Linked DNA regions of Homo sapiens: region 1 is linked to region 2. Evidence: promoter capture Hi-C in human tissues and cell types (Jung and others, 2019). All regions are on one chromosome and are shown on one strand. The core of a region is centred on a gene start or on the middle of the fragment in contact, and the rest is flanking DNA. Distances in the headings are between cores, read along the strand shown. Region 1 overlaps LINC01847 (long intergenic non-protein coding RNA 1847). Region 2 holds the start of ADRA1B (adrenoceptor alpha 1B).

The links. The method cuts DNA at HindIII sites, captures the fragments that hold promoters and counts their contacts. A contact is called where the count stands out against the background at its distance.
Region 1: a contact is called between a fragment that was not itself captured here and the fragment with the promoter of ADRA1B in region 2, in 4 of the 25 tissues and cell types used here (H1 embryonic stem cells, IMR-90 fibroblasts, hippocampus and 1 more).

Annotation. Positions count from the first base shown.
Region 1 is chr5:159,804,408-159,809,730 of GRCh38, reverse strand. The region is part of intron 2 of LINC01847 (long intergenic non-protein coding RNA 1847); the gene reads left to right. Among named protein-coding and RNA genes, the nearest start is that of LINC01847, 64 kb to the left of the region's middle. The HindIII fragment of the contact is 5,822 bases long and covers 921-5,323 here.
Region 2 is chr5:159,914,728-159,919,422 of GRCh38, reverse strand. ADRA1B (adrenoceptor alpha 1B) reads right to left here and starts at 2,941. Exons shown (of 2, transcript NM_000679.4): 1 at 1,569-2,941. The coding sequence starts at 2,517. RefSeq lists enhancers at 1,751-2,367, 2,368-2,984 and a silencer at 3,048-3,107. The HindIII fragment of the contact is 5,190 bases long and covers 542-4,695 here.

The sequences.
Region 1 (5,323 bases), core at 2,582-5,081, 110 kb after region 2:
TTCTGGCTTTTAGTTGGTGTGTTTAGTCCATTACCTCTTTAAAACTAGACTGCATATTTTATAACCATTTTAGATTTGCAGAAAAATTGCAAAGGTACTTTGGAGAGTTGCCATACATCCCACATCCAGCTTCCCCTATTATTAACATCTTAAGTTACTAGTCCATTACCTTTTAATATGATCATTGACATGGTTGGATTTATGTCTATCATTTCAATATCTAATTTCAGTTTTCCCCTGTGTTTTTGTCTTCTTCTGGATTTTTGAATATATTTGAGAATTTTCATTTAATTTCTCTATTGGCTTTTTGGCTATGACTCTTTGTATTATATTTTTAGTAGTTACTGTAGGGGACAACACGATAACTTTTTTAAAAAATTCTTATAGTTTAATTAGAGCTAATATTGTGCCACATCACATAAACTATATAACATTTGCAGGAATATAGTTCCATTTAGTTCTGCCCTCCTACTCTGCATTCTTCATGCTATAATTCTTATATGTAGTCTATCTACTTACAGTATAAACCCAGCAAGTTAATACTGTAATTTTTCCTTAAAACTGTCTTATGTATTTTAAGGAAATGAAGAATAAAAATAGCTTTTATATTTATCCAGATATTTACCATTTCTGATGCTCTTTCTGGTTATTTGGTTTCACACTGCATCATTTTCATTAGGTTTGACAAACTTCCTTTATAATTTCTTGTAGTACAAGTGTGCTACCAAAAAGTTGTCTTCGTTTTCTTTTGTCTGAAAATGTTATTTCAGCATCCTTTTTGAAGTGGTTGGATACAGAATTATGCCCCAGAATACAGCATGATAGATTGATAGAGTTTTGCTTGCAGCACTGTAAAGATGTTGCTCCGTTATCTTCTGACCACCCTGATTTCTGATAAGAATTTTGTGGTCATTTCAGTCATTAGTCCCCTATATGTAATGTGTTGCTTTTCTGTCTTCTTTCAAGATTTTCTCTTTAGGTTTGTTTTACAGCAATTTAACTACAACGTGTTAGACATATTTTTTTTCTTCTATTTGGGTTCTGATGAGTATTTTGAATCTGTACATTTATTTGTCTCAACCAAACTTGGATAGTTTTCTGTCATTATTTCTCTACATATTTTTTTCTATTCTATTATTTTTTCTTTCTTTATCTTTCTCTTTTTCTTTCTTTCTTTCTTTTTTTTTTTTTGAGACAGAGTCTCGCTCTATCACCCAGGCTGGAGTGCAGTGGCGCAATCTCGGCTCACTGCAAGCCCCGCCTCCTGGGTTCACGCCATTCTCCTGCCTCAGCCTCCTGAGTAGCTGGGACTACAGGTGCCCGCCACCACGTCTGGCTAATTTTTTGTATTTTTTTTTTTAGTAGAGATGGGGTTTCACCGTGTTACCAGGGTGGTCTCGATCTCCTGACCTTATGATCTGCCAGTCTCGGCCTCCCAGAGTGCTGGGATTACAGGTGTGAGCCACCACGCCTGGCATTTTCCTTCTTTTTCTAAGAAACTACTTATCCGTGTTTTAAAGAAACTGCTTATACAGTTCTCTGAGGTGATGTGTTGTTCATTTTTAAAAATCTTTTTTTTTCTTTTTCAGATTACATAGTCTTCATTGCTCTGTCTTTAGTTTACTGATGCTTTCCTGTCATTTCCATTCTACTATTAAACTCATCCAATACTTTTTATTTAAAAAATCAGATATAATTTTCATTCCCATTTTTCCTCACTTTCATTTATCTTTCATTTATCTGACTTCCAAAGTATTTCATTATCATTAGAAATATTCATTTTTAATATTTTAATTTAAAAATATTAAAAATATTTTTCATTTATCTATTTCGATTTCCTACCTTTACTTTATTGTGAGTATTTTTTCTCTTATCTCATTTAGCAAGGTTATACAGCATTGAAGTCCTTGACTGAAAATTCCAACATCTGGCTCATTTTAGAGCTTGGTCATCCCTAGAGAATGATTCACATTTTTTTTGGTTCTTCATTTGTTGAGTAATTTTGAATCGTATACTAGATATTGCAAATGAAACATTATAAATACTGAATTCTTCTTTTTTAATTATACTTTAAGTTTTGGGGTACATGTGCAGAACATGCAGGTTTGTTACATAGGTATACCTGTGCCATGGTGGTTTGCTGCACCCATCAACCCATCACCTACATTAGGTATTTCTCCTAATGTAGATGATGCTATCTCTCCCCTAGCCCCTCATTCCCAGACAGGCCCCGGTGTGTGACGTTCCCCTCCCTGTGTCCCTGTGTTCTCATTGTTCAACTTCCACTTATGAGTGAGGACATGTGATGTTTGGTTTTCTGTTCCTGTCTTAGTTTGCTGAGAATGATGGTTTCCAGCTTCATCCATGTCCTTGCAAAGGACATGAACCCATCCTTTTTTATGGCTGCATAGTATTCCTTGGTGTATATGTGACACATTTTATTTATCCAGTCTATCATTGATGGGCATTTTGGTTGGTTCCAAGTCTTTGCTATTGTGAACAGTCCCACAATAAACATACATGTACATGTATAAAGACCGAATTCTATTATATTTCTTGCAGGAGGGTTGATGTTTTTGTTTTAGCTGACAATTAACTTGGTTTGACTCAAAGTGTAAACTCTTGCCTGTGATGGCTGGCAGCTTAAATCTTGTTTGGTTTTAGCTGCCATAGGGTACACCCAGAGACTTGGGCAGGGTTTTAAATAGAATTGTGAGCACCCTTTTCTGGACCTCTCTTTTCTGGGATTTTTTTCTTACTGGCCAGTGGCTATACTTGCCCAGTCTCTTGTATTCTGGTTCTTCTGGCTAGAAAAATGGTGGATTTTCTTTGGAGTTTTAGCTGCTTCATGTTGTACTACTATTGTGGTCTCACCTAAGGCTAAAACTACAAAAACTAGAAACTCACTCTGTACTGGTCCCTTCCTTCAACTTTTAATTTTCCTCCAAAATATGTCTGCTTTTGTTCATTTTCTGTGGCCTTCTGATGGTTTTTCTCCCCTCACATGTTCTCCAGAGTTTATAGTTGTTTACAGAAGGGTCAGTCTGTTAGCAGTTTAATTTACCATACCAGAAATGGAACTCTGAATGTATTAACTCTTTATACATATCTCAAACTGTTTGAAAGAATCTAAAACTCCTGAATTTATGCTATGGGACATCAACTTTATAGCATATTATGCAGTCACTAAAAACAATTTAGACCAAATAGCAACGAAGAAACATACTTATGATTAAATAACATTTGTATGCTACCAAATCATGTATTCACTTTCATTGCAGCTGTGTAAAAATTCGTGAGTATATGTAAACAAGAATTGGAAGGAAACTTGGAAAAGAGTAAAAATATTTTTTATTTTAAACATAGTTCCTATTTTTCATCTTTTAAAAAAGCAGTTCTTTTATTTGTGCAATAAATTTCAATGCATTAAAAATAATTAACCAAGAACTAGGTAATCCCAGTTCACAGATTGCCTTTTTATTTTGTTGATTGTTTCCTTTGCTGCTCAGAAGCTTTTATGCTTGATGTAGTCTCACTTGTTTATTTTTTTAAAATTTTTTTTATTATTATACTTTCAGTTCTAGGGTACATGTGCACAACGTGCAGGTGTCACTTGTTTATTTTTGCTTTTGTTTCATGAACTTTTGGTGTCATATCCAAAAAATCATGGCAAAGGTCAATGTCAAGAAGTTTTCCCCTTTGTTTTCTTCTAGGAATTTTATGGTTTCAAGTCTTACTTTTAAGTCTTTAATCCATTTTGAATTGATTTTTGGTAGGTGTAAGATAAGGTTTCAGTTTTGTTCTTTTGTATGTTGGTATTCAGTTCTCCCAACATCATTAATTAAAGAGGCTATCCTTTCCCCTTTGTGTATTCTTAGTGCCCTTGTTGAAAATTAGTTGACCTTGTATATTTGGGTTTATTTCTCTTTCATTGGTCTATGTGTCTATCTTTATTTCAGTACCATACAGTTTTGATTATCATAGCTTTATAATTATTCTTTTTAATGCTATTGTAAATGGGATCATTTTCTTGATTTTCTTTTTTGGATAAGTAGTTGTTGATGTAAGGAAATGCTACTAATTTTTGTACAGTGATCTTTGTATCCTGCTGTTTTACTGAATTCATTTATTAGTTCTAACAGTTTTTTTTTTTTTTTTTTGGTGTGGAGTCTTTAAAGCTTTCTACGTATAGAATCATGTCATCTTTAAACAAGGATTTTATTTCTTCCTTTCTGATTTGGATGTCCTTCATTTCTTTTTCGTCTCTGATTGCTCTTAAAATTAGATTCAAATATTATAATGAATTTTGAACAGAAAAGGGAGATAAATTCTGATTCTGGCTGTTGAGTGAAGTCACTGTGCTGAGGCTTGCAGTAGAGGGGTGGAGAAGCAGACACCAGCCAGGTTTGGAAACCACATGCACTTTGTGGCTTGGGACTTGGAACACATCCCCTTTCCTCTGAGGCCAAGTCCTCTGCCCTTATGAAAAAATCTAACTTCCTATTTTAAAGACAAGTAGCTCAGAGCAACTCCGAAAGTCATAGACTTTAAATGGCCTCTACGAAACATGGTGGTAAGTTTGGGAAGTGAATCAGAAACAGATGAATTAAATTTTGCCTGAAATTACATAGAGATTTTAACAGACAGAGAAGAACATTCTTAAGAGAAGAAGCATGTTTTGGCATTTCTTACTCAAATCCCAAACATTTGAGAGATGCCTTTGAATAATTTCATTAAGAGAAAAAGCAAAACAAACAAAACAACCCTCTTGAGACTCAGAACTTAAAAAGTAGGCTGAATTATAATGTCTTTTCCATAGCTTATCTCCAACCACATTTTCCATATAGCAGAATATGTTCCTGGTATAATACTACCTCAGCAGAGATCAAAGGAAAAATCAGGGCCTGTATTCAAGATCTGTCCTCTGCCATTTGTCACCTCTGGGAATAAGGGAAGTTGTTTTAGTTGCATGAGCTTAGTTTTCTCATGTGTAAAATGGTCTATTATATCTTCTTTGCAGAGTTGTAGATAAGAGATAAAACCCACAATATCACTGTTTAAAATTTCCAATTCATAGCTAACCCTTGATAAGGCCCTGGAAATTATTATTACATTGTTAAATAAATCTGCTTATCCAACATGGGGTTTTTCTTTTTAACATGTAGTAGTAGTTATAAAACTTAAATTACTATTTAATTTATTGTTTGCATTAGAAGAAGAGAGAAGTTTAGGATTCAGCTACAGAATTGGCTAAATATGCTATTTTAAAATAATCAAAACTGGGTTCAAATTCTGCCTCTACTACATATTGACTATATGACAT
Region 2 (4,695 bases), core at 1,692-4,191:
GGCTAATAAGAGGCCAAATCACCTCCATCAGCTCCATGTACAACCATGATCTTTGTAATGACCCAATGCAGTGTGAACTGTCATCCACTGTAAACCGAACAAGCCTGCAAAAGAACCCTGAGACCTTGGGAAAGAAAAGCAAGCTTCCCTGCAATGGTATGTGATCACGCCTGGGGAGTAGAACTTTTTCAAACCCTTTCTGCTTAACACTAACCATTGAAAATATTTCTGAAAGGCATTAGCCTGCAGGCCTGCTTTAGAAAAGATGACATGGAGAAAAGGTTAGACGGCTTTTGAAAATCTTTTTCTTTCTTTTTAAATGGAAACTCGATATCTGTTTGCTTCCTTTCTGTTTGCATTTTTCTCTTGAAAGCAGTGTGCCTTCAGAATTTATAGCTGTTTGAGGGATTTGGTTATATTTGGGTCTGACCTGAGACTCCGGTGTGATTGCAGGCATATGTGGTCCGCAGTATAGCAGCTGTTACCTCTCCTGATATCATGGCACATGACTGTGTCATGATAAACTCCCTCCATTCATTTTCTGTAGTGTCCCCCAGGGATAGGAGAAGGAATCAAAGCAGATCAGTGCCTCAGAGGAAGGACAAGGGATCCCCAGGCCATGTGGACAGCATGTGACAGATGCCCCCCTTTAGGTTTACCTGCTAACCAGACCTTGGCTTCTTCCTTAGAAAACATCAGGTAGCCTTTTGAACAATTCAGTTAGTAGGACCACCAAACAAAAAGAAGACGAACATGTTTTCATAAGAGGGGGAGGACGCACTGAATTCCATCTTACCAGGATTTGGTCTCTGTCAGCTGAGATGAGGGACAACTATAATTTGATTCTGGGCATTCCATAAATCACTAGAGTTAGAAACATTTTTGGGTAAAAACTAAAAATGTGTGACCCTCTAGTCATCTTCTCTTTCACATCTCAAGCTTTCAATAACTTAAAGGCTGGTTGGGGCTGTGTGGCTGTAAAATGCTCTTATTAACGGATAATGAACGTAGTATATCTGGGTGATAGCTGTCAGTGAAGAGGGGAGGGAGAGAATGCAGCCTCTGCAAAGCTCTTGAGAAGCGTGGCTTCTGCTCTAGCCCTGGAAATGCTGAATGAATGCTGCCTTTCTGTGTACGAGCTGCCTCCCTGCTTCCCAAATGCCGCGTCTGCAGTAACTACAAACTATTTTGTATGCTGCATTAGTGACGCTGCCTTAGCCGACACATCATTACTACTGAAATAACGCCGGTGTGATATTCAAGCCCAGTGAATATCCTTTTTAATTATTAAACCGAGGCTGTTGAGTGAGTCATTCCTCATACCAGATTTTCCTTCCCTGGTTCTATTTCCAGAAGCTAGTGCCTTAGCGTGTTCTACTAACACCTGAGTTGGTTTTTAGCCAGCTCCCCAATCTGCAAACCCTTTGCAGAACAAACAATATTATTCAATCTCCGAACACGCACAGACTGCATAAGAAACAAAACCCACAAAAAACTTTAGAGTAAGCTCATCAGTAAACCCAAGGTCCAAAAATGCCCAGTCCCCCTGCTGCTAGTCCCCAACTTACCAAGCGGTAGAGCGATGAAGAAGGGTAGCCAGCACAAGATGAACATACCGACCACAATGCCCAACGTCTTAGCTGCTTTCTTTTCCCTGGAGAACTTAAAAAGTTTGACAGCTATGGAACTCCTGGGGTTGTGGCCCTTGGCCTTGGTACTGCTAAGGGTGTCCTCGTGAAAGTTCTTGGAATGGATCCTCAGGGTCAGCTCCTTGGAGTTGGACATCTCCTTCATGACTCCTGCCTCTAGGTTCTTGGTGGTTCTCTTGGCCACTATATAGACACGGCAGTACATGACTAGAATGACCGCCAGAGGGATGTAGAAGGAGCCCAGAGAGGAGAAGAGGGCATAGAAGGGTTCTTCGGTGACCCCGCACTCCTTGTCATCGTTGGGTGCCGGCTCCTTCCACCCAAGGAGAGGCCCGATGGAGATGACGGTGGACAAGACCCAGACACTGAGCAGCGCCAAGATGGCCTTCCTCCGGGTGACCAGCGTGGGATACTGCAGAGAGTAGCGCACCCCGATGTAGCGATCGATGGAGATGGCGCACAGGCTCAGAATGGACGCTGTGCAGCACAGGACATCCACGGCTGCCCAGATGTCACAGAAGATCCGCCCCAGCACCCAGTAGCCGAGCACCTCTAGGGCCGCTGAGAAGGGCAGGACGGTGAAGCTCAACAGCAGGTCGGCCATGGCCAGGTTGACAATGAAGTAGTTGGTGGGCGTCCGCAGGTGCCGGTTGCAGGCCACAGACAAGATGACTAGGATGTTGCCCACGATGGCAAAGAGGATGAAGGCGCCCAGCACCAGGCCCACAGAGATGGCCCTGGTGATGTCCAGCTGGGGCAGTGTGGAGTTGCTCGAGGTCTGGTTGGGGCCAGTGAAGTTGGCATTTTTCAACTCTCCCCAGTGGGCAGGTGCTGATGTGTTGTGGCCGGTGTCCAGGTCGGGATTCATCTTAGAGTCCGCCCTCCATAGCCAGGGGGATGATTGGGCTCGGAAGGGCTGCGGCGAAGGCTCCTCAGCTGCCCTGAAACTTTGCTTCCCCCGTGGTCTTCTTCCCAGAGGCGCCCTCCTGGCGAGGAGTCATCTCCCCCGGGCAGCCCAGCCCGGCAGCACGTCTCCTGCCTGCACCGAGTCGCTCGCTCGCCTGTCAGAGGGAGGAGGAGGAGGAGAGGGGACGAGGCGGCAGCTCCAAGTTTAATGGTCCACGTCAGGCGCGCCTGGCCGGGCTCGCGGGGGAGCGGCGGGGAGGAGGGGGCGGCAGGGCCGGGGGCGCCCGGCGGTGCCCAGCTCGCTCGGGTCTGCGGACCGCGGCGCGTCCTCCGCCCAGCGAGCGCCGAAGAGGGTCTGCTTTCAATGAGCCGCTTCTGGGCTGACTGCACGGCGGTGACATCAGGCGGGGGAGCCCGGCGCCCTGACTCCGCGCGGCACTAGGGGGCAATGCGGGTCCAGCCAAGGCGCCCGCAGCCCCGACGCCGCCACCCCGCAAGCCGGGAAGCCAGCCGCGTCCCCCGCCGCTCCCAGGGCGCGCCCTCTGCGGGGGGCGGGGCGGGGGCAGGGGCCGCGAGGGCGGGACCTGGGCGTGGAGATCGCGGGTCACCCACCCCTAGGCGGCCCGCTGGGGTTATTTTCCCCGCTAGTCACTCTTCCGTGTCAAAGGTGGGTTGGGGGCTGCTTACCTTTAATAGGGGGCTCCCGGAGTGGGCCCCGGATTTAACGGGATATGCAACTTGTCCAGCACCTAAAAGAGGGAAAGAGAATTCTAGGATTGGGCAGGTGGGAGGGACTTGAGTCGGATCTGAGGCCAGCCCTCATCCTTCATCTGGCTCCCCTCGCCCCGTGCAAACTCTTTGGCCCCAGTAAAATCTGGCTTCTCTTCATCCTTTCATTCGCTCAGGCATTCACTCATTTATTCAGCCGATTCTTACGGAGTCTCCACTCTCTGCCCTGGCTCTGGGCGCTGTGAACATAGCAACTGAACAAAATAGACGGACTCCTGCCCTATAGGAGCGTAGCTTCTCCCGACAGAAGACAGACAGTATACTAAATAAGCAAATGATGAGGTGTGTAATGTGATGACAGGTGTTAGGCTGAAAATAAAGTAAGGAGGGGGAAATGCAGTGGGGTGTTTGTGGGGTGGATTTGAAATGTTAAGTGGGTGCTTGGGATGTCACTGAAGTGATATTTGAGGAAACATGAAGGGAATTGAGGGAGGAAGCTAGCTGGCTATCTGGGAGTGGGGGTGAGGGAGGTCAGAGACCTGGGGAAGGGACGTAGAGGATCTTGGTTATTTGTTGAGTTTTTTCCTTTCTGTCTGATATCCATGTTGGACATTCAGTCACAGGGACGCACTCCCAAAGGTGGGTGAATGGTACTTAGAAGAGAAAGTATGGGCCAAGAAAGAAAGAAAGAAAAAGCCAAAGAACTTTATGTTAGTTCACATTTATCCAACATTTATTTTGTCCTAGACAGTGTGCTGAGTTCTTTTTGCATTTTCTCATGACTCTCATGAGAGAAAGAATACACTCTTCACCATTTCTATTTCATGGATGAGACACCAAATTATGGGGAAGTTTAGCTGTTCGCCCAAGTTCACAAAGGCATGGAGGAGAGCTGCTGGGAACTGAACTCAACTGTGGGGTCTCTCCCAAAGTTGGGTACTCAGCTACTGTGTCATACTTTTCCCCCGGGGCAAGGTAGGGGATGGAACCACTGTTATAGATGGAGCTGCCTTTTGAGTAGTTAATTTTGGGGCCTGAGCCACTGGTGCTGGGCAGGGACTCCCATGAATTGAGCGCTTACTGATAGCCATGCATTTACTCAGTTTCTTTGAGACTTTACAATTCTTTGAGAGAAGCATAACCATTGTTCATTGAGAGATGAGAAACAGTGGTTCAGAGAGAGTCAGTTGATTCCTGAGGTCATAGGCTAGCAAATATATGGCAGAGCAATGGGCAGTGGCAGCTGGAGATTGAAAAGTAAAGCCTGATACCTTCTTTTACTCCAGTTCACAAGCCTGCATCTTGGGTTTCTCACCTTCTGCTCTTGATACTTGTTATAACTTGATATTCACGGGTGGGGAAAACAGAAGTCACTCAGGATGACTTACATCTAAGCTTCTCAACCTAGAGG